Linked DNA regions of Homo sapiens: regions 2, 3, 4, 5, 6 and 7 are each linked to region 1. Evidence: promoter capture Hi-C in 16 types of primary human blood cells and fetal thymus (Javierre and others, 2016). All regions are on one chromosome and are shown on one strand. Each heading gives the region's core, a stretch centred on a gene start or on the middle of the fragment in contact. The rest is flanking DNA. Distances are from core to core; before and after follow the strand shown.

Region 1 (3,974 bases), core at 1,475-3,974:
TGCATAGCTAGTTTAACATATGTACTAACTGAACAAAACTTATGATCTATTACACAGTTCCTATTATCAAAGGGTCACAGTTTGGTAGAAGAGAGTAATTTTATTTAGGCAAGTAACTAAAACATATCATAATTATAAACCTATGGTCAAGATAAAACAAGTGACACATAGGAACGGGGAGTGCAGAAGAGGGGTCCAGGTAAGACTTTCTACAGGAGATAAACTATGTATAAACTAAGACTTAAAAGATGAGTACTGGCCAGGCACAGTGGCTCATGCCTGTAGTCCCAACACTTTGTTAGGCTGAGGCAGGCAAATCACTTGAGCCCAGGACTTTGAAATCAGCCTGGGCAACATGGTGAAAGCCATCGCTACAAAAAAAAATACAAAAATTAGGCGTAGTGGCACATCCCTGTAGTCCCAACTACTCTGGAGGCTGAGGTGGGAGGATCACTTAAAACTGGTCAGTCAAGGCTGCAGAGAGCCAAGATCATGCAACTGCACTCCAGCCTGAGCGACTGAGCGAGACTCCTTCTAAAAAAAAAAAGAGTACCATATGTGTTGGCCTGATAAATTCTGGGTGAGAGCACATTTGAAGCAGAAGGGATAGTAAATATAAAAGAACTAGAATCATCTTGGTCCATTCCAAAATTTCTAAATAATTCAGAAGACAGAAAGAAGTGAGGCCTAACATACACACAAGGATAGACAGGATTTTGAACAGCCTTATGTGCCTTTTCTTAGAGATTTAAAAAAAAAAGGGCAGGCAATCCAAAGACATACTTAGGATCTTGAATTGACAAGATGTGGTGGTAATTCCCAGGTTTCTGGCTTGGAGAACAGATAGGGAAACTAGAAAGAAGAGTAAGGGGTCAATACTTTGGAAGTGAGTAAAGCAAAACAAAATTAAACAACGGAAAAAACACACAAAAATTATAGGTGAAATTTTGTTTTATACATTATACACAGTGCTCTACATAAATATAATCCTTATTATTGCCCCTGTAAATATGATCACTTTCATTTTCTGATGAGGAGATTCATGTGAAAGTTTAAAAAGCCTACCTAAAATAATACCGACAGAAAAGTGCTCTTGATCCCACCTATTCTATGCTACCAAACTGCTCTCCCAAAAGGCAGTTAGAAAAATTTCAATGCAAGTAGTATAGTGTAGTAGAAAAAAGTACCATGGAATTCAATTCAAAATAATTGAATTCAAAAGCAGTTTGGTAGGGCAGCTGGAGACTCAAGCGATTCTGCCTCAGCCTCCCGAGTAGCTGGGATTACAGGCACACATCACCATGCCTGGCTGATTTTTTTGTATTTTTGGTAGAGACGGGGTTTCACCAAGTTGGCCTCGAACTCCTGACCTCAAGTGATCCGCCCACCTTGGCCTCCCAGACTGCTGGGATTACAGGCATCTTTTTTTTTTTTTTTTTTTTTGAGATGGTGCCACACTCAGTCGCCCAGGATGGAGTGCAGCGGCGCGATCTCGGCTCACTGCAACCTCCACCTCCCGGGTTCAAGCAATTCTCAGCCTCCCCAGTAGCTGGGATTACAGGCGTGAGCCACCGCGCCCGGCCTAAAAAATTTCTTGAAGTAAACTCTGGTTTGACTAAAGCTTCTGCAAATATTTGCAAATGTAATTATTTTTAGAAACCAGTTTTGTCCTCATCTACCTTGCCTCAATTTCTAAAACAAATAAAAGTTAAGGAATTCAAAATACAAAAAGAGAAATGATCAAGAGGGGGCTGGCAAGCCTGTGAATTTACACCACTTTATGGGCACTGAAACACTACTACTCATAAAAGTCATATCCTTTCAGTATTTCTGATAAATTTCAAATGGCCTACTTCGAGGCATAAGTTAAAAGGTGCTACATGAATCTCTGGCTAACACAGTCAAGTTTTATGAACTACGTTGGAAAACAGGAGTCAAGGACGGCCTATGTTACCTAATTCGCAGCTGAACTAAAACTCTTTGAGCCAGACAGCTCTGCCTGTTACAAAAACAAAGGGCCTGTCTTCTCTGTCTCTCTCAACCCTCCACCCTCCAAAAAGAATCAGTTCCTTTTTACATAGCAATCAATGTCCACTTATCAGATTTCACGACCTGCTTCCCCAGAGTCAGTATCCCCAGGGTGGACTCAAACTTGTGACTCCAGGAAGGGGATAAGGAACATGAGCGCCCACAGGAATGGCTTCAAATCCAAGACTCGAAGGAAAGTGACACTACATAACTATCACAACTAGGAATGCAATGTCGCTGGAGGGCGTGTCCAGCAGGACGGGAGCGTAGCGCATCGCCGGGACAGGCCATTCATTAGCTGAGGGGGGCGGTAGGGACCCTGGCCACTCGGCCCTCTCCGCGCCGCCTCGCGCGAAGCCCGGCAGCCTCGGGGCCACAGAGTCCCCTCCCCACGGTCCCCCCGCGCCGCCGTCCGCAGCCACCCGCACCCTCCAGAAGGCGAATACTCTCCCCCTGCCCCCGGGCTGAAGGGAAGCCGCACCGCACGGTCGGGCAGCGCCAAGCCCTCCCTCACCAGTCGCTAGATGAAACTGCGCCGGTGGATTCCGCAGGGTCCACATAGAGCCACAAAGGGACTCATCCTCAGTGAAGGCAATAAGAGAAACCGAACGGCGCCAGAGGGGCCAGTCCCCAGACCCGGGTCAGTTCGGCAGGCGGCTGCAATACAGCCGCTACTACAGGAATCGGGAACGGGGATGTAGAGGAAGGGCCCGAGCGGGCGGTTCCCAGTAATAAGGCGGGCGCTGGTTGGCTGGGGCTCCTGTATGTCTCTTGATGATTGGCTGGTGCCTGCCCAGAAGGTTTCGCGTGGCAGCACCTCTGCCATGGCCTTTTCCCTGGCGCCCCAAAGGAACTTGACCTCGCCGGCCTTGGGGCCGCTGACTCAGGCCAGGGGCGGGGAAAAGAAAAAGGCCGCAGCGGGGAACTCTAGGCCAACAACGGTGATGGGAGTGTCCCTTTCAGGCCAGCCATCTCGTAGTTAGAAACGTCTCTCTAGGTAGCTGGAGACTCGCGGGGGAGGCTAAACCCGAGTGGAGAAGGAGACCTGGCAGGATGCCTTGGACACCCGGTCGCTACGCAGCAGAAGCCAAGTGCATAGGCGTCCTGCACAGAAGAGTTTCCTCCCATGGCCTTAGCAGTGGGGTTACTGCAAAGCCAAAGGTGTAGTCTCCGTAAACCCAGCCTCACCCCTCTCTGGATCTCCATACACCCGGATTATCTGGCAGTCACTCCCTTGGTCAGAAGGCGTCACTGCCCTCTTAGATCACCACCGTAGGACTAGCTGCCGACCCGGGTCACGCCACTCACTGCCTGACACCAGGCTTACACTAGGCTTTTTCCACTTGAACTCTGAATCTAAAGGCCATTTAGAAAGTGGTCAAGTGAAAAATGCTAGGAGGGACAGTAGCCAATAATCAATACTAGGTTACTGAATGGGAAACACACTGCTGCTGAATGCCTAATACGGTAAGCACTCAGTAAATGATTGTTCAAGGAGGTGTAGTGTGACTCAAAACAAACGACACTAAGAATCATGAGTTGGCTGTACAGCTCTGCCACGTTGAGTTTTACAAGCCACTGAGTCGACCTCATCTAATCTCTAAAAGAAAGGAGTTGCGCATGTCTTAATGCCCACTGAGCTCTGCTTGCTCTCTTTTGAAGCCTTTTTTGTGGGAGGGTAGGTTACTAGCCCAAAGCCACACAGCTGCTTAGCGAAAGAGAAAGGGAGACTAGGACCCAGCCCTCCTACTGCCCTTCCCAGCACATAATTGTTTCTTTGCTCTTTATTCTTAATGTCCTTCTACAAAACAAAAACCAGTTTGTAATGTCAAAATTGAGTGGTTTTGAAAATAAGCTTAAGTTGGCCGGGCGCGGTGGCTCACGCCTGTAATCCCAGCAATGTGGGAGGCCGAGGCGGGCGGATCACGAGGTCAGGAGATCGAGAC
Region 2 (3,974 bases), core at 402-2,901, 850 kb after region 1:
CCTTCCAATAACTTATTCTATTTTATTTTATTTTATTTTATTATTTTATTTTATTTTATTTTATTTTATTTTCATTTATTTTATTTTATATGAGACAAGGTCTTACTCTTTCACCCAGGCTGGAGTCCAGTGGCATGATTATAGCTCATTGCAGACTCCTGGGCTCAAGGGATCCTCCCACCTCAGCCTTCTGAGTAGGTGGGACTGCAGGCATGCCACCATGTCTGGCTAGTTATTTTTTTAGAGATAGGATCTCGCTATGTTGACCAGGGTGGTCTTGAACTCTTGGCCTCAAATGATCCTCCCACCTCAGCCTCCCAAAGTGCTGGGATTACAGGCATTAGCCACTATACCCAGCCTATCAAATAGCTTAACATACAAATTAGGAAAGAAGTTTGTCTTAAAATACATACTAAGATGTGTGGGGGAAGAAAACACAGATAGTTTTTCCTCTGCTCTCACCACGACAATCAATGCAGAAGATTTCTATAACCCTAAAACAAGTGGTTATTTCTCCCTTACCAGCAAGCAAGCAGTTCTACAGTAGATACCAGCTGGATGTGCTGCAGTTCAATTTGGACACTATCTACCTGGAGATAGTATCAGATCCCACAGGTTGAGGGCTGAGCCTCATAAGACTGTCCTCCTGTTTTGATGCCAATCACAAGCCCTAGTTTGTTTTACCTGTGCTTCTGATCAACTGGCTATAAAGTTCCACAATCCTTTCTTTAGCTTTAATTTGCTAGAGCGGCTCACAGAGCTTAGGGTACTGGTTCATTATAAAGGACATTACAAAGGATACAAGTGAAGAGATGCATAGTGTGAGGTATGGGTGAAGGGACGTAGAACTTTCATGCCCTCCTCAGGAGTGCCACCCTCCAGGAACCTCCGCATGTGTTCAGCTGGCCTGGACACTCTCTAATCATCCTTTTGGGCCTTTTGAGACTTCATTGGATAGGCATGATTGAAGCATGGACAGCTGTGTAGAAATGTGATAGGAAAGAAAAGATATGATGTAATACTAACAGACTAAGTGGGGGAACCCAGCAAGGCCCGTCTGTCAGATTTTTCTTGGCCTCTCTACAGCATTCCTTCCTTCTGGGTATGGGGCAGGACCCCTTCTGAAATAGGGGTCTTTGACCTACAATGAGACCAAGTAGTCCAGAGAATTTTGTTACGGCCAGCTCCGAGACAGGGGAAGATTCCTGCCTTAGGGAGAAAAAGGAGATGAGAAGAGGGCAGGAAAAGTCAGAGAGAAATTGTTTTCTGAGGCCTGCTTCTGAGGCCCAAAGTTCCCCATATTATAATAAGGGCTGTGGGAGTTATGAGCCAGGAACCATGGATGAAAACCTACAGACACACTCTCACTCACAATACCACACCAGGACACTAGTTTTCAACCTGATACGACAGATAATCACTTTGATACCATAAAAAGAAAAGTTACCATTTTCAGTATGTCAAGGATTTGTCTTAAAATTTGATTCAGAAGCTTCTCTTTGATGTTAGAACTTCTAACATTTATCTTTTGAAGTTTGAATAATTCTTTATTCCTTTACAACATCCACAAGAAATTCCATCTAAAAGTACAAGTTTGCTTAAAGGTAGTTAGGTTCTTTTTTTTCCTAAAGAGTTTTGAAGAGTCTGTTTCTGAAGATATACTGGGAACTCTTTTTAAAGGCAAGTCATTAAATGATGGAAATTAATTTGCCTAATTAGGTACATAATTAGTTTTTTAGATTAACCAATATTCACAAAAGTAGATTTCATGGTATCTAGATAACTCAAAGAAGAATACCCAAGTTGTTTATGAAGCTTAGCCAAAATTGTGATAGAACAAGGCAAGGATTGCATATGTGTGTGTGTGTGTGTGTGTGTGTGTGTATATACATATATATATATATATACACACGTATACATATATATACACATACACATATATATATGCTCTATTACATATATATACTCATACCGCCTTTGATGGTCATTTCATATATTATGGCAAAAAAACACAATTACTTTTGCACTAACCTATTATTTCAACCTCAGTTTATTCTGTAAAATAAGACTTTGCATATTTCTTCTAAATTCCAGTTCTAACATAGTCTGTATTCATTCTGAGTCTTCACTTTGTGACATTCTATCAATACTTGATTATAATACTGACTTCTAGGTTCAAACTAAAGGATTACATTTATTATAAGATCTTCTTTACTTAACTAATCTCCTTTGAGTGGTTGGTAAGATAGGGTCTCTGTACAGAAATTCTGCCCTGACCATTATTTCTAAGGAAATGTTATGGTTGAATAAATAAAACAAAAAGTTGTTTTGTCCAGTTAGAAAAATCAGTTTATAAAAACAAATGGGCAATGATAATCTCATGTAGATTTTCTTATAAGCATTAGAATTACTTGCTGTAATTTGATATACTAGGACAATGGTTGTACCTCTTCCAAGTACTGTAAATATCTACTTTGAGGCCAGACTTTATTTCAAAGTAGCAAAAATGGATTGAAGGCTGTAACTTTCCATGTTACATGTTCATGTAACATTCCAGCTGTCTTCTCACATCAAATATTAAAAATTTACCAAAAAAAATCTAAAATACCTCTCTTCTCCATAAATTTGTTTTGGAAAATATCATTTTTCATTAAAAATGTTATTCTGTTAACAGGTAACGAGTTTATTTTTTAAACAAATTAATAAAGTTTGTAACATTTCCTCAGTTTTAATTTTAAATATGGTATATATAGGCAAATGTAGCTAACAAAACACAAAGACCTACAATGATCATTTTTTATAATACTATGCTAGAAAATGGAAGTAAAATGAATGCAATATTTTGTTTTTCTCAACTACATTAAAATGCTTTCTTCAAGGTTTTACAAAATAATGCAAAGTACCAAGTAGTACCCAAAAAGCTGACCATAGGCAAACGCCTAGCTCAATGTCTACATCCAGCATTACCAGGTGGAGTTCATCGGAAGGCGCTTGAAACATATGAAATTATCTTCAAAATAATTGGACCTAAGCGACTTGCCAAAGATCTTTTTTTATATAGGTAAGAATAATTTTACTATATATATACAAATAATATAAAGAAAATGTATTGCTAAACTATTTTATACTTTCTGCACTAAAAACTAAAAATTGAAAACTCCTTAGTGATTAGAAGTTTTCAGATATCAATCTTTGTTTTGTTTTGTTTGAGACGGAGTCTTGCTCTGTCACCCAGGCTGGAGTGCAGTGGCCCAATCTTGGCTCACTGCAAGCTCTGCCTCCCGGGTTCACGCCATTCTCCTGCCTCAGCCTCCCCAGCAGCTGGGACTACAGGCGCCCGCCACCACGCCCGACTAATTTTTTTGTATTTTTAGTAGAGACGGGGTTTCACCGTGTTAGCCAGGATGGTCTCGATCTCCTGACCTCATGATCCGCCTGCCTCTGCCTCCCAAAGTGCTGGGATTACAGGCATAAGCCACCGCGCCTGGCCTCAGATATCAATCTTAAATATTTGAGTTAAGTGATTCAGAAAAATGTAGAACAGTCTTTAATGTCTTTTTGTTTTTTATTCTTAGATATCATTTATTAAAAGTTTTCATTCAAAGTTGTTGAGACTATAGTACATTCTACCTTTTTAAGCTTGAAAACTGGCCTGAGAAAAAAATAGGATACCTTGATCTCTCAGCAACTTTCAACATGGTTGACTCTTCTCCACTTAAAACAGTCTTTTCCTTTGGCTTTCATTGTACCACATTTTCCTGTTCAGTTACTCTTTCTCAGTCTCCTTTACAAGTCTTTCCTCCTCTACCCAAACTCCACACAGAGTTTCTTAGGGCTCATTTAGTGCAGCACCTTCTTATATTTTCACTTTGTAATCTCTCCTTAGACAAACTTAGCCATACCCATGATTTATTTTTTATTTTAAATTTTATTGTGTACATTTAAGATACACAACATGATGTGAGATACCAACA
Region 3 (3,974 bases), core at 707-3,206, 830 kb after region 1:
ATGCATAAATCTCTTAATGTTTTAAGAAAGTTTACGAATTTCTTGGGCCACATTCAAAACTGTTCTGGGCTGTGGGTTGGACAAGCTTATTCTGAATATTGAAAAAGATACTGATTTAAAAATTAGGTCAAAGGGGTTGAATCACTAGGTATCATGCAGAGACATAGCATTTTGAGTTTGAGTATAATTTAATAGAAAATTAAATTCTATCCACAAAATTAATAGCATGTGTAAAGGCACTGAGATGGGAGGGAGCAAGTCTTGAACAGTGGACAATTGCCTAGGTTTTGCTTAGCTGGGACAGAAGTGTGAATAAGATTGAAGGAATGGGTCTATTTTATGAAGGCTTTATATGGCTAACAGCTTGCATTTCATGTCTAAGAAAATGAATATCACAATTATAGCAGTAATAAGAGCACTTCTTATACGCTAAGTTAACACTGAGCTAAAGAGCTTTCCAGGGATTATCAAATGTACTTTTCTGAGCTTCCAGCAGGGAACATGCTCCACCTGCTTTTTCCTGTGTAAAATTAATTGGCTCTTGGAGAAGGTGAAGGTAGTGAAAATAGGTTGTTGACATAGTCCAGGTATAAAATAGGCATGAATTAAAGACCATTCTGAAAAATGCACATTTGTAGACTTTATTAAACTGCTCCAAATGAAATCGCACAAGTACAAACTTGTGTAATTAGGAAGATGATGGTGCTGTTGACAGTAATGAAGGAAAACAAGGAAATTCAGAAAATAATAGCAGTGCTTGACAGACTTTACAGCATTTCTTGGAGTGATATTCTGACAACAGAGGTACTGTGAAATGGAAAGTGAGGAGAGGTGTAGTAACAGTTTATGGTTTATCAGTATTTTGGAGGGTGCCTATGTTTTGTAGAGATTTTTTACAATAATTAAGCAATACCTTATTTTGGTTCTTATTCTATTACGTGCTTCAGAATCTGCAAAAATATCTAGAGTTAATTCTCTCTTACAGAATTAACACCTCAGCAAAGTTATTTTGTTCTTTCATGATGAGCATTATTAATATTGTTGTTTTGTTACCATCTTAACCTTAAAACATGAGAGGGGATGGACATTGAAGGGTTGTAGGAGCTGGGGGAAGGTCTGCTGTAGGCTGTACCCCATTTTTCTCTGTAAAGTATCTTGATATCCTCAACATTAATTCTAGTTTACTTTGTCCATCAAGGGAGTTAACCCTTGTGCAAGGCTACTTTCTGTCACCATTCTTTCACAGATTTTGGAAACTGATGTGCACAGATACATGCATGGTCTGTGTCCAGGGTGAACCCTTTTTTAAAAAAGCATCTTTAAATAAAAGTACTCAGCTAAAGTGTTGGTGACTTCCTGTGTAATATTTTGATCTTATCTTTTAAATACATAGGCATGATTGAATTTGCATCTCAGTGAATTTTTTTGCATGTGTGCTTTTTCTTATGATTTTACTTTTGGAACAGTCTTAATAAAATGGGCAAAGAAAAACGTTAAAATTCCATGGGATTTTTTTTAATGGGAAAAATTTGTTTCTACTGGCTGTGATTAAAATTTGTTTACAGATATTCAGTTAAATTGGAACACACTAGGAAGTATAGAAAAATGTTTGGCTAGTATGTATAGTACGGCATTGTTATGTTAACTTATGTAAAAACCAGTCTTTATTTGAAAATCCAACTCTGTAGTAAGTTAATAGCATACTATTTATTTTTTAAATGCTGAAAACGTTAAATTACTAATTTTTAAATATATTGGTTAGATTTTATTTTGCAAATAATGATTTGATTAACTTAATATGGGTTTAATTATGCTGTAAAAATTATTTTTGCTTATTTCACTTTATTTCTAGTAGTATGTTTTAGCATATGTAAAAGTTTAAGCAAAATCATTGTCATTAAATGAAGAATGATAGCTACAAATAAAGATACTTTGAGAAAGGTACTTTCTGATGAAAATTTATGTTTCAAATAAGCTGGAAAGAAATACATGGTGGGATAGTTAACAGTTAGTTATTCCTCATCTTGCGTTTCACCTCTCTAATCATTCTGAATAGCAATGCATTCATTTTTATCATTATTCTCATGTCTTACCTTCTGCTGTATATAAAAAATAAGCCATGTTTTCTTTCTTCTTCCAAACTATTAATAAAAGCAAAACAGAATGTGGTCAATCTAGATAATTTAGATGTTCTTTAAGTGTACTATTCTGATATTTACTCTTAGGCTGATTTTTTTTCCCCTGCCATCTAAAATGTTTGTTTCATTTCCCCCTACCCAATCAATGTATACACAGTGAAATCAAACATTTTAATGTTAGGAAAAACAAAACATTAGAAAGATATGTTTGAAAAAAGCAGATATATCCTAAAAGCAAAATTTAGTTGTTTGGGATTCTGTTTTACATTATCCACACAACTACTTCTTTCTATAGATACTGTTAATACAATGATATATGACTAAACCAGAATATTAAACTATCAGTGATGTTCACAGGTTTCATCAAAATAAGGAAAACTTCCTTGATATATTTGTTTTCTGAACTATCATTTTGTCCCCTCATAACTAATAACCCTCAGGAATTATATCTCCCTTTGCCAAGAGAAAAAACCTGTCTTTAGTAGGTCCTATAAAGCATCCCTTAGGTGCTTAATAATAGAATTTGTGCACTAAAGCATACTGCTAATCCAGCAAGAATCCTGTCATCAGCCCTGCACATCCTAAATTTGGGGACAGCCACATCTGTAATACTGTTTTTGGATGTGTAACCCAACCTGCAGTACCTCTGTAGTATTTCATCCCACTTCAGAGCATTTTTACCTCTTAGGAATTATTTTCTAGGGAGGAATAGATTGTTGTCTTTTATGTTCTGTATATAGTTCCCCTTGTATATAGGTTCACCACGGCCATTTATTGAATTAAAATCCCTGTTTTATAATGTCTGTGTCACCCAAAACAATCTACAGATTCAATACAATTCCTATCAAAAGACCAATGACATTCTTCACAGAAATAGAAAAAAGAAAATCCTAAAATTTTGTGGAACCACAAAAGACCCCAAATAACCAAAGCCATCTTGAGCAAAAAAACAAAGCTGGAGGTGTTCTACTACCTGACTTCATAATATACTACAAAGCTATTGTAACCAAAATAACATGGAACTGGCATAAGAACAGACAGACTGACTAATGGAACAGAATAGAGAGCCCAGAAATAATTCCACACATTTACAAACAACTGTTGGTTTGTTCGTTTGTTTTTTGAGACAGAGTCTCACTCTGTTGCCCGGGCTGGGGTGCAGTGGTGTGATCTCACCTCACTGTGGCCTCTGCCTCCAGGTTCAAGCGATCCTCCTGAGTAGCTGGGATTACAGGCATGCACCACCATGCCCGGCTAATTTTTGTATTTTTAATAGAGACAAGGTTTCACCATGTTGGCCAGGCTGGTCTCCAACTTCTGGCTCAAGTGATCCACCCACCTCAACCTCCCAAAGTGCTGGGTTTACAGGTGTGAGCCACCATGCCCAGCCCTACAACCAACTGGTTTTTGACAAAGGCAACAGTAATACACAGTGGGGCAAGGACATTCTCTTCAGTAAATCGTGTTGGGAAAACTGGATAAACTGCAGAACAAAATTAGACCCTTATCTCTCACCATATACAAAAATCATCTTGGGTTATAAAAAAAAATAGGACCTGAAACTATGAAACTACTAGGAGAAACAAGAAAAGCTATGTGACATTGATCTGCACCATGATTTTGTATCTATGATCTTAAAAGCACAGGCAACAAAAGCAAAAATAGACAAATGGGGTTATATGAAATTAAAAAGCTTCTGCACAGCAAAGGAAACAATTAGCAGAGTAAAGAGACAACCTACTTACAGGATGGGAGAAAATATCTGCACACCATACATCTGATAAGGGGTTAATATCTAAAATATATAAGGAACTCAATAGCAAGTAAACAACTTGA
Region 4 (3,974 bases), core at 1,310-3,809, 820 kb after region 1:
AGAGAAGCATGGCAGACACTATCTTACTTTAAGTGCTCAAAGTTAACATAACCAATTTGATGGAACAAAGCAAAATCATGTGCCACCTGACAGGAAGCCTCACTTCTGTTATATTCCTGCCAAAGATGCAAAATCTGAATCTTGTCTTGAAGAAACATAAGACAAATCCAAATGGAAGGATATTCTACAAAATGATTGTACTATCATCTTGCAAAGTGTCAGGACCATGAAAGTCAATGGAAAATGAGGAACTCTTCTAGATTGAAACAGACAGAGGAAGCATGACAGTGAAATGCAATGCCTTATTCTGAACTGGATTCTTCTGTTATTAGGGATATTATGTAGACAACTGGTAAAACATGAATGATGTAAGATGGTAGCAACACATTTCCCAATTGTGAGTGTTGGATGATGGTTCTTTAGGAGAATTCCTACTTTAAGACTAAGTTTGATTGACATAGTTCATACAATAATTTCATACTTGAGGCTTTCTTCACCATTGACTTGTATTCTGTCAGGTATCACAACTGCTTAAAACTATCCAATGACTTCATCTCTCACTCTAACTACAAGCTAAAGTCCTTTCGATGGTCCATAAGGCACAGTGGTATAGCAGGCCCTGCTGCTACAAGCTTTGGAGAACCTGTTGTTAAAATTCTAGGAGTTCTGCAAAGCAGGTCAACTCACCTCACCCAGTTGGTAGGCTGAAGGTCATACGTGGTGAAAGTATTCACACCAAAGAAATCAACAAATGCTTCAAATCAAGACCTTAGTTTGTCTTTTTGTTTATTTTCATGGAGAGTAGGTTATTAAACATGTACCAGCACACTGCCATAAGATCTTTTACTATGTGTTCCCCCAACTCACCCGCATCTCTCTGAACTAGGCACCCTTTCATACTCACTTTCTCTCAAAGGGAAATTGTCTCCCACCAGGTATGGCAGTTCTACACCTCACCAGTTACAGTTTAATACTCAAATGTTAGTTTCTCATTTGAAATAAAAGATTGTAACTTTTTTCTCCCCATTCCTTTTTTGTTTAATTTTTTTCTCCACTTCTATCAAATATATATTTATTTTGTATATTCTCTGCCGCCTCTTCTCTACTGCCACCATTAAACCCTATGCTCAACAAAGGCAGGTGTTTTTGTCTTTGCTGTTGTTACTGTTCATGGCTGTATTCTCAGCACTTAGAATTTGAATTTTTGGCACTAGAGTAAGAACACAATAAACATCTGTGGATTGAATAAATGAATGGCCAAAGTTTATCCCAAAATGCTAAGATATCTTAATATAAATAGATCTTTACATCTGTGAATGTAAACTTTGGAAGCCAGACTCTTTTTCACAACCCACTATGGCAGGAATTAATCCATTCCTGAGAGAGAACTCACCCAACCATCTCCATGGGAGGGCATTAATCTATTCAAGAAGAATCTGCCCTCAGGAACCACGCACCTCCCACTAGGCCCTATGTCTCAACACTGCCACATTGGGGATCAAAGTGAGAAAACATAGGGACAAAACACATCCAAACCATAGCAGTTAGGAACAAGAACACCAATATTTAAATTAACTATAAAATATACTAAACATTTTAATTAGAACACACAGATCATCAGAACAGATTTAAAATCACCCAACTATATATTTTTAAAACTAGCATACAGTTTTATGCTATTTTTAGGGAAATACAGTATTTTTACAGCTTTTTGCTTTATACAGAAAGACATAAGAAAGGTTAAAAAGGTAGAAAGGACACACTATGCAAACAGTATAGTCAACTGATTTCTCATGAAGACTGAGTTATTTTAATGGGAGAAATGATGGCCTTTTCAACTGATGGTGATAGAATAAATGAATATCCTTATACCAAAAAAAGAACTTTGATCCCTACTTCACTGCAAACACAAAAATGAATTCAACATGATCACAGATCAAAATGTGAAAGCTAAAACGATATAACTCCTAGAAAATAAACCTGCCAAAACATCTTCACAGCCTTAAGGTAGGCAAAGATTTAAGACACCAAAAAAACTAACCCTTAAGGAATAAAAAAACGATAGAGTGGACTTCATTAAAATTAAAATTTCTGTTCATCAAAGGACACTATCAAAAAAACGAGGCAGGGCATGGTGGCTCATACCTGTAATCCCAGCACTTTGGGAGTCCAAAGTGGGTGGATCGCTTGAGTCCAGGAGTTCAAGACCAGCATGGGCAATATGGTGAAACCCTATCTCTACAAAAAAATACAAAAATTAGCTGGGCATGGTGGCATGCAACTTGTATCCCAGCTACTCCAGAGGCTGAGGTGGGAGGATTGCTTGAGCCCAGGAGGTTGAGGCTGCAGTGAGCCATGATCACACCACTGCACTGTAGCCTGGGCAGTAGAGCAAGACGCTGTCTAAAAAAAAAAAAAAAAAAAAAAAAAGAAAAGAAAATGAAAAGTTAAGTCACAGATAAGAATAGTCATATATTCACAAGGCATTTATGTGAGAAAGCTCTTGTTTTGAGACAGTATAAAGAACTCTCAATTAAACAAGACAAATAATCTGATTATGGGCAAAAAAAATTAGAAGATACTTTTAAAAAGAACATATATGAATTGCTAAAAAGCAAGTGAAAAGGCACTCAACATTATTAGTCATCGGTAAAATGAAAATTAAAACCACAAGATACTATTTTACACACACTAGAATGGTTCAAACTAAAAGGACTGATAATACTAAATGTAAGTCAAAATGTAAAGTAGTTGAAACTCATTTTTTTTCTGGTTGAACGTGCAAACTGGTACAATCACTTTGGAGAACTGTTTGGCAATTTCTCACAAAGTAACATGCACATCTATCCTATGACCCAGAAATTTCACTCTTAGGTACTTACCTAAAAAGAAATGAAAATGTATGTCCAAAAAAAGATTTATACAACAGTGTTATGACAGCTGTATTCATAATAAGCAAACTCCAGAAACAAGAAAAACATCCAGCAATAGGAGAACAGATAAATGAATTGTGGTATATTCATACAATGGAAAACTTAGCAAGAAAAAGGAATGGACTACTGATATATGCAGCCACATAGATGGAACGTGAATCTGAAAAATATTATGGAAGGAATGCAGCCAGAAACAAAAAAGTATATATTGTATGAATCCATTTATAAGTAGTTCAAGAAATGGCAAAACTAAGTCCAGCAAAGTTAGGTTTCTTTTTTTTTCTTTTTATTTTTTATTTTTTGAGACGGAGTCTCTTTCTGTTGCCAGGCTGAACTGCAGTGGCGCGATCTCAGCTCACTGCAACCTCCGCCTCCCGGGTTCACTCCATTCTCCTGCCTCAGCCTCCTGAGTAGCTGGGACTGACTAAAGGTGCGCGCCACCACACCCAGCTAATTTTTGTATTTTTAGTAGAGACAGGGTTTCACCATGTTGGCCAGGATGGTCTTGATCTCTTGACCTCGTGATCCGCCCGCCTCAGCCTCCCAATGTGCTGGGATTACAGGCATGAGCCACCCGGGTACCTTGCCTAAACAAAGGAGAGTAGTCCAAGGGAACTGTGAAAGGCCCCTGCATGAGAGGAAGGGAGGGTTTGTTGTGTGTGTGTGGTTTTTGTTTTATTTTGGTAGGGTTTGGGTTCCTAATTACTCTACAAGGTGCACCAGAATTGGAGATATTTGTCCAAATTCATAAATTTTGAAAGAGAAAAAGAAATACATTCAGAGTACTATTATTCCCATTTCAAGATTGAAGAAATTCAGATTAAATTATTCTAATTTCGTGAGGAAGCTAGCATTTGAACTCAGTTCTCACGCCATATTCCAAATTGCCACACCAGATATCTGGCAGATTTAGGGAAGAGGAAAAAATTAAGCATCAATCTACCTGTGGCACCGTGTAATACCATTCTCAGGATTTTAACTTCTAACTTACTCTCTTTGAAACAGCGATCACAAAGGAATAGACAAGGGGACCACAAATCA
Region 5 (3,974 bases), core at 849-3,348, 790 kb after region 1:
GCTCTACAGAGATTATTGGCCCACTCCTTATCCAAATGATCTACAGACACCAAAGCTGCAGCTCCCTCCAGGCTGCCAAGTGTGTTCCAAAAAAGTTTGTTTACATCTCTTGTTTATGTCATTGTCATCTCCTCTCCATTTCTCTTTGCCTTTGTAGATATATATCTTTTCATTCCTTAACTGACATTTTAACAGGACTTCAGGGAGAAAATAATTTAAAAATCAATTCACCTTATTTAACCAGAAGGCTTAACTTTTTCTAAGGTGTTGCTTCAGAGGCTTGCTTTCATTTTCCAAAAATGACGTTAAGGATGGTACCTTTTACTAACTCATTTTTCCTTTCTGGCTCACTGTGAACAAGTAACTTCTTACAAGATTTTGACGATTAAACAAACAAATAAACAAAAAATACCATCATCTGCCTTCCCTTAAGTACAATTGCTTCATGTAAATCACATCTTCTAATTAACTGTATTAAAAGTAATTATTCATCATCCAAAGCTAACACAGCATGTTGTAGTTCTCTAGACACTATAAACCATATCTTTAAACAGCAATGCATTTTAATTATCAGGATTTTCATTATTATATTTTAAAGTAGTATAACAGAGTTTACATAAAATATAATCAATGCTACTGGGGAACCAAAAGAATAAGGGACAAAGTACAAAATTCGGAATTTTTTTTCTTCCATTTCAACAGGTCCTCTCCCATCCCCAGCCCCAAAATACAGCCCCGAGCCAGATGGCAGCCAAGAAAAACAACTTCTCCATCTCTGGGCACCAATTCTTCTAACTGAGGAGGTGTATTAAGAAAAAAGCTCTGTTTCGTGAGTTACCAGGAAGGTAAAATTAAAAAAAAAAAAAAAAGAAGAAGAAGAAAGAAGGAAACAAAGAGAGAAAAAAGCTCCAATTTTCTTGAAATAGGCCCAAGAACAAACTTTATACTATTGCTTTATATCTACAAAGAGGCTATGAAACTCTGAAAATGACTCAACTTCTTAATACTTAAAATTCAATACTCTGTATTTATGAAGGTCAAAATATACAAACTTCTTGGTATATTGGATGGTATGTTACTTGGGGTCTATTTTGAAAAGCACCAATTCCACAACATATATTAATCATCTATCTTTCCTATATATTTACTATAAAATATCATTCTGGCTTTTAAGCAAGAAGCCAATCATTTTGGCTTCTTGTTATGAAATTCTTACCTGATGACACGGTCTCTCCCAACATTACCTTGCAACGCTTACAAATTACTTTGGTATTTGCCTTTGGTTCCTGTAGAACAGAAAAATGTCATTTAAATGTCATTCAGCTTTTCTTAAAAGGAATATATAATTTTAACATAGTCCCCAGAGTATACATTGAACTTTACATTTTATTCTGCCCTCTACTAAATACTGGGAATACATTTAGCTTGTATGCATAATTCACATGCACAGAGAAAATTTTTCAAGTCTTAAGAAACAGTAACACACAGATTCACTTTTCCAAAACCAGCCACTTCTTGATAGTCCAAAAGTTGCCAAATAATTTGAATAAGTAGTACCTTATATTTCTAAAAAGCACTTCCAAATAGCCTTATAACTTAAAACAGGCAGATGGTGGGCAACAAAGACAGGGTTGATGACTTGCCCCAACTCATGTGTATAGAACACAGAAGAATCAGAACTTGAACTCACACTATTTTGACTCCTAGTCCAGTGTAATTTATGTAAAAGTAACCCATAACCCTTAACTACAATAAATGAAAAGTTAAAAATATCTAGTCTGTTCATATACTTCCATTTTTTCCACTTAGGATCGGCACTGTAACTGGAAAGACAGGCAGTGCTCTGGGACAATTCCTGAAACAAACCTAAGCTTCAAAAATCCAAATTCGCTATTTGAGATACAGATTAAAATAGCTAGCATTTGCCTAATCAATAAAGAATATGCCTTTTCCCATCCATAGTTATACCTTTGTTAAAACCATACATTCCTCTCGTCCAGATATACTGTAACAAGGCAGAAGCCATATACAGTGGGCAGGGAAAAGGAGGTTCTACAACTCTGGATACTCCAGGGTACCTTTCCTGGGAAACCACAGAATAGGTGTAGGCTGAAGTAAAGAAGGGCAGTGACTTCTGATGTGGGATAATATGTGTATTTAATCTAAGGAAAAAAATTTTAACTGATTAATATACATTTAAGTATTTTTTCTTTGGCATAAATAATTTCCTGAAAAATTGAATAAAAAGTACATTTAAACTGAGTTCCATGGAAGTGCTGCTAGATTCAGACAGAGCTGATGTCTGAATCTGGGTCTCTCTGATGCTAAAGCTTCTGAACACTATGCTAAGTGTTTTCCAAACAACAGCTCATGTGCCCCATTAGTGGGAACCAATTCATGGAACCAATTCAGTGGATTACTGTGTTTTGTTTTTTTTTGTTTTGTTTTATTTTGTTTTGTTTTGAGATGGAGTCTTGCTCCATTGCCCAGGCTGGAGTGCAGTGGCGCGACCTTGGCTCACTGCAACCTCCGCCTCCCGGGTTTAAGCAATTCTCTGCCTCAGCCTCCCTAGTAGCTGGGATTACAGGCACCTGCCACCATGCCCGGCTAATTTTTGTAGTTATAGTAGAGATGGTTTCACCATCTTGGCCAGGCTGGTCTTGAACTCCTGACCTCGTGATCCACCCACCTTGGCCTCCCTAAGTGCTGGGACTATAGGCGTGAGCCACCACACCAGGCCTACTGTGTTTTTAAAAAATGAAATACAATAGAACAGAAAATATGACAGTGCTTCAAACACTGAGTAAGTACTGCTTCAAGAAACTTTTATTTGAGGTGTGTTTGTGTATGTGTGCATGAGTGTATGTGTGTTATCAGATCTTGATGTAAAAAAATATATTCAATGCTGGGCACCATGGCTCACACCTGTAATCCCAGCACTTTTGGAGGCCAAGGCAGCCGGATCATGAGGTCAGGAGTTTGAGACCAGCCTGACCAACATGGTGAAACCCCTGTCTCTACTAAAAATATAAAAATTAGCTGGGCGTCGTGGTGCGCGCTTGTAGTCCCAGCTACTCAGGAGGCTGAGGCAGGAGAATCACAGGAACCCGGGAGGGGAAGGTTGCAGTGAGCCGAGATTGTACCACTGCACTCCAGCCTGGGCAACAGAGCGAGACTGACTCTCTCTCTCTCTCTCTCTCTCTCTATATATATATATATTCAATCAGGGGTCAAAGTCAAGAGCAACAGCACAATTCATACTGGGGTCTTTCTCTATGGCCTATTCTTTCCCCCAGCCTCAAACACATGCAACTAGTAAAAAAATCCGTAAATGCCTACAGCTCTTCTATTTAAAAACTTCTGAGATGAATCCCTTCATACACTGAATTAACCTTCAGTAACATAAACACTTATTCCATTTTTTCCTGGTCTAGCTGCAGTATTTGGACAGATTCTGCAGCCTTCCTCAAAAGTCTCTGCTGAGGAAACAAAAGCACACATGAACTTCATAAGTCAGTTCAGTCCTGGCTCAAACTTTTATCCAGGCACACTCCCAAAGTGGGCCCCACAGTGTGCCATCTCTGGCCATTGCACTGACATCCTTATCAGGCACATCACAAATGGCAGGTCTCAGAGCCTGACCCAGGTGGGAAACTGGATGGTGTCATACCCATGAGAGGTAAGAGACAGACACAGAAACCTAGGAAGGTGCCAATTTATTCAGGTCCAGGAGGAAGAGAACTCAGAAAGCCAGTATGGTCTACAAAGGGTGCCATTCTGGCAGTTTAATGCTTTCTTACAGTAAAACATACCTGCATGGCTCCAAGTTGATATTAAAAATATTTTTTAAAGAGTACTATTTTATACAAGTTAAATCTGATCACACTCATTAAATGTTACCAAAAACTAAGGGCTTTATTAAAAACTAATATTGGTATTGTAATAGCAATGCTTGAAAAGAAAGAATTTTTCTA
Region 6 (3,974 bases), core at 840-3,339, 770 kb after region 1:
AACAGAAGAAATAAATGATAAATAAACATATATTAGAATCTTAATGTAACTAATAAATGTAAAATTTTGTGCCACCATTTTTCATTTACCAGATTGGCAAATATAAAAGTACTGATAACATCTAGTTCAGAAAAGGGGTTTGAAGTGGGCATTCCAATACACTGCTGGTGGGAGAGTGTTTTGGGATTTGGATGCATGTGATTCACTGAGGGAAAACTCACAGGAGAAAGGAAGTGAAGGAAATGGGATAAGGCAGGGGAAAGAGCTAGTTAAGGATATAGAATCATCTGGAGTCTGGTTTCAGCCTGATCCATGGGGGAGTTCTACAGCATGAATCCCACCTACAGAGTTTGTTCTACCTTGAGACAAGAGTCCCTAGCTTTCTGTGCCCCAGGATCAAATCACTGGCAGCGGGCTGACCAAGAAGGGGTGAGTCAGGGAGGGACTGTGGCGGACAGGTAACTTCTGGGCAAGGCAACACCTGTCATCTAAAGAGGAAGTCTGTGGAGAAGCGGGCAGCTGTGAGCCATTATCAGCCAACGCTGTCAGCAGCTGGGAATGGGTGCATCAACCCAGTATGGGGTCTGGGTGGCACACCAAGAATGCCCACTATAAAAGATAAATTAGTACAACTTTTTTGCAAGGTGATAATTATCTGAGTTTCAAATATACAAATTCTTATATTACATTAGAAAGATCCATTTCTAAAGAAGTACTAAAAGACACAGGCAAAGATTATTTTCATTGCAGTTCAGTCTTATCAGCCATACAGCAAAATTCCAGTCATTAAAGAGCCAGACCTATATTTAAACTAATAAAAACAATCCTCATGATACATACTGTGAAGCAAGCAGGTTGCAGAAAAACGCTAATCATGTGATACTGTTTTTTTTTTTTTTTTTACAAATAGACAAACACCTGTGAGTGTACATATATATAGTTGTATATGGAAAGAATAAAAATAATGAAGTACACATATCAGACTGTTAATACTGATTGCTCCCTGAATAGTATGATATAGCAAGGCAGGAAAGGGAACACTTTATGTTCTTCATGTTCCCTGATTGTGTTTCAAGAATGTTTTACTTTTATAAAAAAGAAAAATCTAAATATATGTTAGAAAGTTTCAGAAGTTCCTACTCCCGATCTTCAATCTGAAATCTTACAATAAAAGAAAAAGTAAAACTGATTTCAGAAAACTGTGAGGTATATTTACTATCAAAATCAGTCAGAAAATATTTTAGGTTTTCATGGAAATTATCTGCAATTAGAAAAGCATAGTGTCCCCATAATGGATGGCCAGCTACAGAGTCACACCTAACAGCAACTTCAGGCCCTTCCCTCCTTTTTGTTACTATGTTTCCCTATTAGCTTTTTAGTCTCATGAAGGCATTTGTGTTCTACCTTGAGCACCTGGAACAGTGTCTTTCATATAAGAAGTGCTCCATACCTGTTTACTGGTTGAATAAAATAGATGTAGAAGCAGAGAAGATACTTGGGCTATGATTCTTGACTATCCAGATAAATGCTCAAAATTTGCTTCTGCAGGACACTGTTTTTCAGAGGTAGTGTAATATTAGGCTCTAGTGGTACATGCTGGGATGATTGCTAGCCACAGAGCCTCTTCCTCAAAAATTGCCACTGTTTCTCAAATATCACAGAATCAGAGGCAATTAAAAACAACAGAAGAAGGCCAGGCATGGTGGCTCATGCCTGTAATCCCACTATAATCCCAACAGTTTGGGAGGCCAAAGTGGGAGGATTACTTCAGCCCAGGAGTTTGAGACCAACCTGGGCAACATAGCAAGACCTCGTCTTCACAAAAAATTTAAAAATTGTCTGGGAATGGTGGAGTAGGCCTGGAGTCTCAGCTATTCAGAAGGCTGAGGTGGGAGGATCACTTTAGCCTGGGAAGTCGAGGCTATGGTTAAGTCATAATCATGCCATTGCACTCCAGCCTGTGTGATAGAGTAAGACCTTGTCTCAAAAAAACAAAAAACAAACAGGAGCAATAGGACATATTCTAAACATAAGAGTACTAAATAGGAAAAAAAAAAAAGTGGGACAGAATAGTGTTATAGTGACCCCAAAAAAGCCATTACAAACTGAGAGTAAAAAACTTGATTTTGGCTGGGCGTGGTGGCTCATGCCTGTAATCCCAGCATTTTGGGAGGCCGAGGTGGGTGGATCACGAGGTCAGGAGATCGAGACCATCCTGGCTAACATGGTGAAACCCCGTCTCTACTAAAAAAATACAAAAAAATTAGCCGGGCGTGGTGGCGGGCGCCTGTAGTCCCACCTACTCGGGAGACTGGGGCAGAAGAATGGCATGAACCCAGGAGGCTGAGCTTGCAGTGAGCTGAGATCACGCCACTGCACTCCAGTCTGAGCGACAGAGTGATACTCCATCTCAAAAAAAAAACAAAAAACAAAAAAACCCTGATTTTGTGGTATGAGCTTCTAAATAGCAGGAATCAGGATTTTTCTCTGTATCCGTAGTACCTAGTACATAGAGGCACTTGATCATCTGTTATTAAAATAAAGGAGTTTGATTTATGAATTAAACTGATATTAACTTTTTTTTTTTTAAGATGGAGTCTTGCTCTGTCACCCAGGCTTGAGTGCAGCGGCACCATCTTGGCTCAATGCAACCTCCACCTCCTGAGTTCAAGCGATTCTCCTGCCACAGCTTCCTGAGTAGCTGAGACTACAGGCATGGGCCACCATGTCAGGCTAATTTTTGTATTTTTAGTAGAGATGGGGTTTCCCCATGTTGGCCAGGCTGGTCTCGAACTCCTGACCTCAAGTGATCCACCCACCTTGGCCTCCCAAAGTGCTGGGATTTCAGGCATAAGCCACCGTGCCCAGCCTGATATTAACATTTTTAATCACTTATTTTCCACACCTGAGAATTAAGAAAAAAGGATGAAAAAACTGAAGAATTCTGAGACCTTGGATTCCTAGGCTACAAAAAGCTGGATAAAATAATTTCTTACCAAGATATACACTTTGTCATCCTGACCTTGAATCGTGAATCTAAAAGTGCTTCTAGCAGAGGAGAGCTGCACCAGACACTGGGCGATCACGCTCTGGACAAACCAAGACCTGTTTGAACAGAAATCAATTTTTACAATGTGTATCTCATAATAACTCTAACTGGCAAGATAAGCAAAAAATACACACACGGTACCTAAAAGGCAGACATATCCACATGCCAGACTTTTCTACGGACTGCTCATTCCCTCAGAATCTGCACTGATGTGGATTTTAATATATTTTAATGTATTCAGGTTTGCTCCATTCTTCTTAAAACCTATTCTCCAATCCTTGATACACTTTCCACACCAAACCTAACTATTCACCCCTACTGAATAAAAAAATACCATGTTAGAACAAGTCAATACTCCATTTGTGCTGTAGCATATTAAACAGAGAATAACTAACTTACAAAAGAAGGCAAGAAATTTCCTTCCAAACATCAGACAGTATTGTCTACATTTTCTTCCATTTGGATCTCCCTAAAGTGTCAGCTCTGAGGTACAGAATCAAAGTATTTACATAAGGATAAGTTCAAGGCTATACTCAAAGATTGCTATAATTTTTGGATATCAACAAATAAACTGGAATAAAGACATATCATGGTTAACTTGTTTGCAAACTAAAGAGTCAAAGAAATAAAAACACTAATAGATTTAGTGACTAAGTACCATGTTTTTAAAACATAGGAGTCATTTGAAACTGACCCATGTTTCAAATTTTAAATAATTCAAATTAAAACCAGAAATTATTCAAAAAACTTATTGGTGACTGGGTGATAAGATTCTAGATATCTGGCACATAGAAATAAGCATAGAAAACTTTCAGAATTAGAAGATTTATAAGAGCACATTTGTCTACAGCACTATATGATCAAAACATTTTTTAAAATCCTCAAAACTTTTATATGTGTGGTTTGGTTCAACTATCAAAAAGGC
Region 7 (3,974 bases), core at 830-3,329, 750 kb after region 1:
TCTCTACTAAAAATACAAAAAATTAGCCAGGCATGGTGGCGGGTGCCTGTAGTCCCAGCTACTTGGGAGGCTGAGGCAGGAGAATGGTGTGAACCCAGGAGGCGGGGCTTGCAGTGAGCCGAGATGGTGCCACTGCATTCCAGCCTGGGCGACACAGCAAGACTCTGTCTTAAAAAAGAAAAGAAAAGAAAAAGGAAAACACAATAGTTTTTGTATATACTTCCAGGGGCATATATAAATATATGTATATGCGTAGGTAAAGGTCTGGAAACATACACAGCAACCTGGTTACAGTGGTTATACAGACGGGAGTGAAATTAGAAATGGTAGTCCACGGATTTGAACTTGACCCTGTGATTTGAAATTATTTTACAAGGAGAATGCCTTCACCATTTACCTGGGGAATTAGGAATGATTGATTTTTTTTTAAGTACGGGAATTTTTTCTGACATGGAGAGAAAATGACAAGAGTAAGGTTCTGGCAGTTGATATTGTGCAGTGAGGCAGAGGGTGTCCCATGGAGGACAGTGCTATTGCTAGAGGCCTTTGGCCTGAAGCCTTGCATAGGTACCTGGGACAAGCACTTCCTCCCACAATGGATGTTACAGCAGCAGCTAGACTTAACAGTGGGAACTCCAATAATTAAATGTTCCGTTTATTTTGCTTTGCAATAGAGGTACATGCACCTGGAAGGCTCTTACAGCCATCTGGATAAAAAGTCCCCAAGTGATAATGAAAGAAACTGACTTCTTCCCTCTACTCCAGCTGACTTTAGGATCCAAAGATCATTTTTCAACCTTAATGTCTAAAATAAAAGCAGAACCACAGGAACACTGCAGTTCCTTTACATAATAAATGTCAAATTAAAATTCTGGCAGACACTAAAGATTACGCACCTTTTTCTTTATACTTATCATCTCACATTAGGCCAATACATTTCCTTACAAAATGGGATTACAAAAATCATATGGAAAATCTGGAAGGAAATTTAACTCAGGGCATGTGTCTGAATAAGTGCTAAAACTCCATTAAGGGATTAGAGTTTTTCTTAATATATTTTAAGGGGATCATTTCCCATCAATAATCTTTGGTACTTAAAAAAATTTTTTAAGAAGCTTCAAATATATAATTAAAAGCTTTCTCTTCTACCAGATCTAAGTTTCAGTAAGTGATTAAAAACTATAGCCTCTTTCCAACTCTTAAGTCATTAAAACAGGCCACACAGATTCTACAGTCCATCACTATAATAATACTTAATACAAGAGTTACACAGTACTCTTTGCATGGGGACAACCAAACTTTAACCCTGATGAACTCAACTGTCCGCTTTCTCTGTGCTTGTGCTTAGTAGATGATAAGCTGGAAAATGTCACAGCATAAGAAAGGTTAATATCACTATGAATTTGTGATCATGAACCTCAAATGGGCAATGAACTATGCCTACCAAGTCCACACATTTCTGGTCATCTCACTCATCTCCTTTCCAAATGACCATTTTAAATCTTCTCCATTCTCCTCAAATCTGCAACCGTCCACTACCGTTATCCCTTCTCCCTCTTGTGCCTCCTCCCTCTTTACTCCTATCTTACAGATAAAACAGAAGCCATCAGAGGACAAGTATTTCATCTTCTCAAAACCTATATGCAAATCTTTTCCAGCCACTCCAATACTGATCTCCTTCTGTCCTGTTACAAAAGGAGAGCTATCCTGCTCCTGAGGCTGGTCGGTCCACCAGAGCTTGAGATACCAGACCTTTCCATCTTGTCCTGGAATCCTGCCTCATCAGTCATACCTTCTTTCTCATGTGTAATCAACCTCTTCTCAACAGGACCTTCCCTGTTGGCTTTTATATTTTTTGAGACAGGCTCACTCTGTCATCCAGGCTGGAGTGCAGTGGCGCGATCTAGGCTCATGGCAACCTCTGCCTCTTGGGTTCAAGTGGTTCTCCTGTCTTAGCCTCCCAAGTAGCTGGGACTATAGGTGCACACCACCACACCCAGCTAATTTTTGGATTTTTAGTAGAGACGGGGTTTCACCATGTTGGCCAGGCTGGTCTTGAACTCCTGACCTCAAGTGATCCACCCACCTCAGCCTCCCAAAGTGCTGGGATTATAGGCATGAGCCACTGCACCCAGCCCCCTGTTGGCTTTTAAATGGACTCAAGTCAGTCTAACCCCACCTGCCTACCTTAAGTCAGCTTCCCATCCCCTTCCTCTCTGTTCTGCCGTTCACAGCCAAACTTCCTGAAACAGTGGTCCACACTTACTGTTTGTCATATCACCTCTCATTCACTGCTCACCCATTCCACCCCAGCTCTCATCCCAGGCACCCAAGATAATTCCTGTAAAAGTCACTAATAACCTTTGTAATCTACATCCAATGCATGTTTTACATTCAACATCTTACCTGACCTCTCTCTCAGCAGCGTTTGACTACTTTCTCCTTCTTAAAGCAGTTTCCTCCCTTAGCCTCTAAAAAGCAATACTGTTGTTTTCCTCCTGTCTCACCACTCCTCTATCTCCTTTCCAGACTCACCCTCCTTCAATTAGCCTATAAATGTGGGAGTTCTTCACTGCTCTGTCTTCCATTCTTTCTTCCTAAATAATCTTACCCATGCCATTGGCTTCAATTACAACCAATATGCAGATGACTCACAAATTTACAAATCCAGCCCCAACCTTTTATTTGAACCCCAGGTCTATATATTAACATTCTATTTGCTATTCTCTCTTGAACAACTCAAATGCACCTCAAACTCAACATGTATAAAAGTGAACCAATTATCTTCTCCCAAAACTTTATCTTCTTCCAATATTATCTATCCCAGTATATAGTGGCCCATTCCTCAAATCCAATCAATCATCAAGTATGCAATTTTACTTACTAAGTATCTCTCAAATCTATTGCAGCTACCATCACCCAGGTCCAAACTAAAATAATTTCTCTTAGGCTACTGCAATAGCTTCCTATCTGATCTACCCAAATCCAACTATTCTCTAGATGGTTGCCAGAACAATCTTCCTGAAGCTTAAATTAAACCACCTCTTGCTTCTCTCTGGATAAAATGTTCAATCGGTTCTTATTGTTCTTAGGATAAAGACTAAATTCTTTCAAGTCCCTTTGGGTCCCTGAGTTGGTCTGTCTCTTCCCTACTCTATGCCTGTTTCTCTCTCTCTCTATTACAGCCACCCTGACCTTCCCATCCCTTGTACTCACTGTACTGCCTCCCACCCCTTGCCTAGAAGCTCTTCACAGTAAACTCCTTCTCCTCCTTCAGGCAGCAGTCAAGCATCAATTCTTTTTTTTTTTTTTTTGAGACGGAGTCTCGCTCTTGTTGCCCAGACTGAAGTGCAATGGGGCGCTCTCGGCTTACCGCAACCTCCGCCTCCTGGGTTCAAGTGTTTCTCCTGCCTCAGCCTCCTGAGTAGCTAGAATTACAGGCATGTGCCACCACACCTGGCTAATCTTGCATTTTTAGTAGAGATGGGGTTTCTCCATGTTGGTCAGGCTGGTCTCGAACTCCCTACCTCAGGTGATCTGCCAGCGTTGGCTTCCCAAAGTGCTGGAATTACAGGCGTGAGCCACTGAGCCCGGCCCAAGCATCAGTTCTTCATGGACTCCTATCCTGACCCAGTTGGTCTCTCTCTGATTTGTTCTCATAGCACCATTTATCTCTTCATCATAGCACTGATCAGTTTGCAGTTTTACATTTACTTATTTTTCCTGCTAGATTGTAATAAGTCTGTGATACAAGGTCTCTTTTAGCTCAATATTAAATTCCTAATACCTAGCACAAGAGTACACATTTAATAAGTATTTGCTGAACGAATCAATGACCTTCTCTAATACCTGAAGTTGAAAACTTTTCTATTAGTTGTCCAGATTCTATGGATTCTTACAATTCAGCTTCTTTTGTCTAGTTTCATTGAAAATGCCTTATCCCTTTATATATAAATTTCCTACAGCAGCCTTGT

Evidence for each region. The method cuts DNA at HindIII sites, captures the fragments that hold promoters and counts their contacts. A CHiCAGO score of 5 or more calls a contact.
Region 2: a contact is called between a fragment that was not itself captured here and the fragment with the promoter of IBTK in region 1, in 12 of 17 cell types (total CD8 T cells, M2 macrophages, monocytes and 9 more). The highest score is 13.8, in total CD8 T cells.
Region 3: a fragment that was not itself captured here is called in contact with the fragment with the promoter of IBTK in region 1 in 14 of 17 cell types (total CD8 T cells, monocytes, fetal thymus and 11 more); the score reaches 20.1 in total CD8 T cells.
Region 4: a contact is called between a fragment that was not itself captured here and the fragment with the promoter of IBTK in region 1, in 16 of 17 cell types (M2 macrophages, non-activated CD4 T cells, total CD4 T cells and 13 more). The highest score is 58.9, in M2 macrophages.
Region 5: a contact is called between a fragment that was not itself captured here and the fragment with the promoter of IBTK in region 1, in 16 of 17 cell types (M1 macrophages, endothelial precursors, megakaryocytes and 13 more). The highest score is 15.4, in M1 macrophages.
Region 6: a fragment that was not itself captured here is called in contact with the fragment with the promoter of IBTK in region 1 in 11 of 17 cell types (total CD4 T cells, activated CD4 T cells, M2 macrophages and 8 more); the score reaches 11.8 in total CD4 T cells.
Region 7: a fragment that was not itself captured here is called in contact with the fragment with the promoter of IBTK in region 1 in 4 of 17 cell types (non-activated CD4 T cells, total CD8 T cells, total CD4 T cells and 1 more); the score reaches 9.4 in non-activated CD4 T cells.

Annotation. Positions count from the first base shown.
Region 1 is chr6:82,245,020-82,248,993 of GRCh38, forward strand. IBTK (inhibitor of Bruton tyrosine kinase) reads right to left here and starts at 2,725. Exons shown (of 29, transcript NM_015525.4): 1 at 2,543-2,725. RefSeq lists a silencer at 2,358-2,527. The HindIII fragment of the contact is 2,262 bases long and covers 1,620-3,881 here.
Region 2 is chr6:83,097,826-83,101,799 of GRCh38, forward strand. DOP1A (DOP1 leucine zipper like protein A) reads left to right here. Exons shown (of 39, transcript NM_015018.4): 4 at 2,880-3,061. Among named protein-coding and RNA genes, the nearest start is that of DOP1A, 32 kb to the left of the region's middle. The HindIII fragment of the contact is 323 bases long and covers 1,491-1,813 here.
Region 3 is chr6:83,077,879-83,081,852 of GRCh38, forward strand. All of the region lies in intron 1 of DOP1A (DOP1 leucine zipper like protein A), which reads left to right. Among named protein-coding and RNA genes, the nearest start is that of DOP1A, 12 kb to the left of the region's middle. The HindIII fragment of the contact is 3,746 bases long and covers 84-3,829 here.
Region 4 is chr6:83,061,008-83,064,981 of GRCh38, forward strand. All of the region lies in intron 1 of UBE3D (ubiquitin protein ligase E3D), which reads right to left. Among named protein-coding and RNA genes, the nearest start is that of UBE3D, 2.8 kb to the right of the region's middle. The HindIII fragment of the contact is 3,859 bases long and covers 631-3,974 here.
Region 5 is chr6:83,037,200-83,041,173 of GRCh38, forward strand. It overlaps UBE3D (ubiquitin protein ligase E3D), which reads right to left. Exons shown (of 10, transcript NM_198920.3): 5 at 1,217-1,286. Among named protein-coding and RNA genes, the nearest start is that of UBE3D, 27 kb to the right of the region's middle. RefSeq lists an enhancer at 734-1,933. The HindIII fragment of the contact is 459 bases long and covers 1,870-2,328 here.
Region 6 is chr6:83,019,457-83,023,430 of GRCh38, forward strand. UBE3D (ubiquitin protein ligase E3D) reads right to left here. Exons shown (of 10, transcript NM_198920.3): 7 at 2,997-3,105. Among named protein-coding and RNA genes, the nearest start is that of UBE3D, 44 kb to the right of the region's middle. The HindIII fragment of the contact is 5,372 bases long and covers 1-3,974 here.
Region 7 is chr6:82,997,548-83,001,521 of GRCh38, forward strand. The region is part of intron 8 of UBE3D (ubiquitin protein ligase E3D); the gene reads right to left. Among named protein-coding and RNA genes, the nearest start is that of UBE3D, 66 kb to the right of the region's middle. RefSeq lists a silencer at 3,505-3,696. The HindIII fragment of the contact is 1,891 bases long and covers 1,135-3,025 here.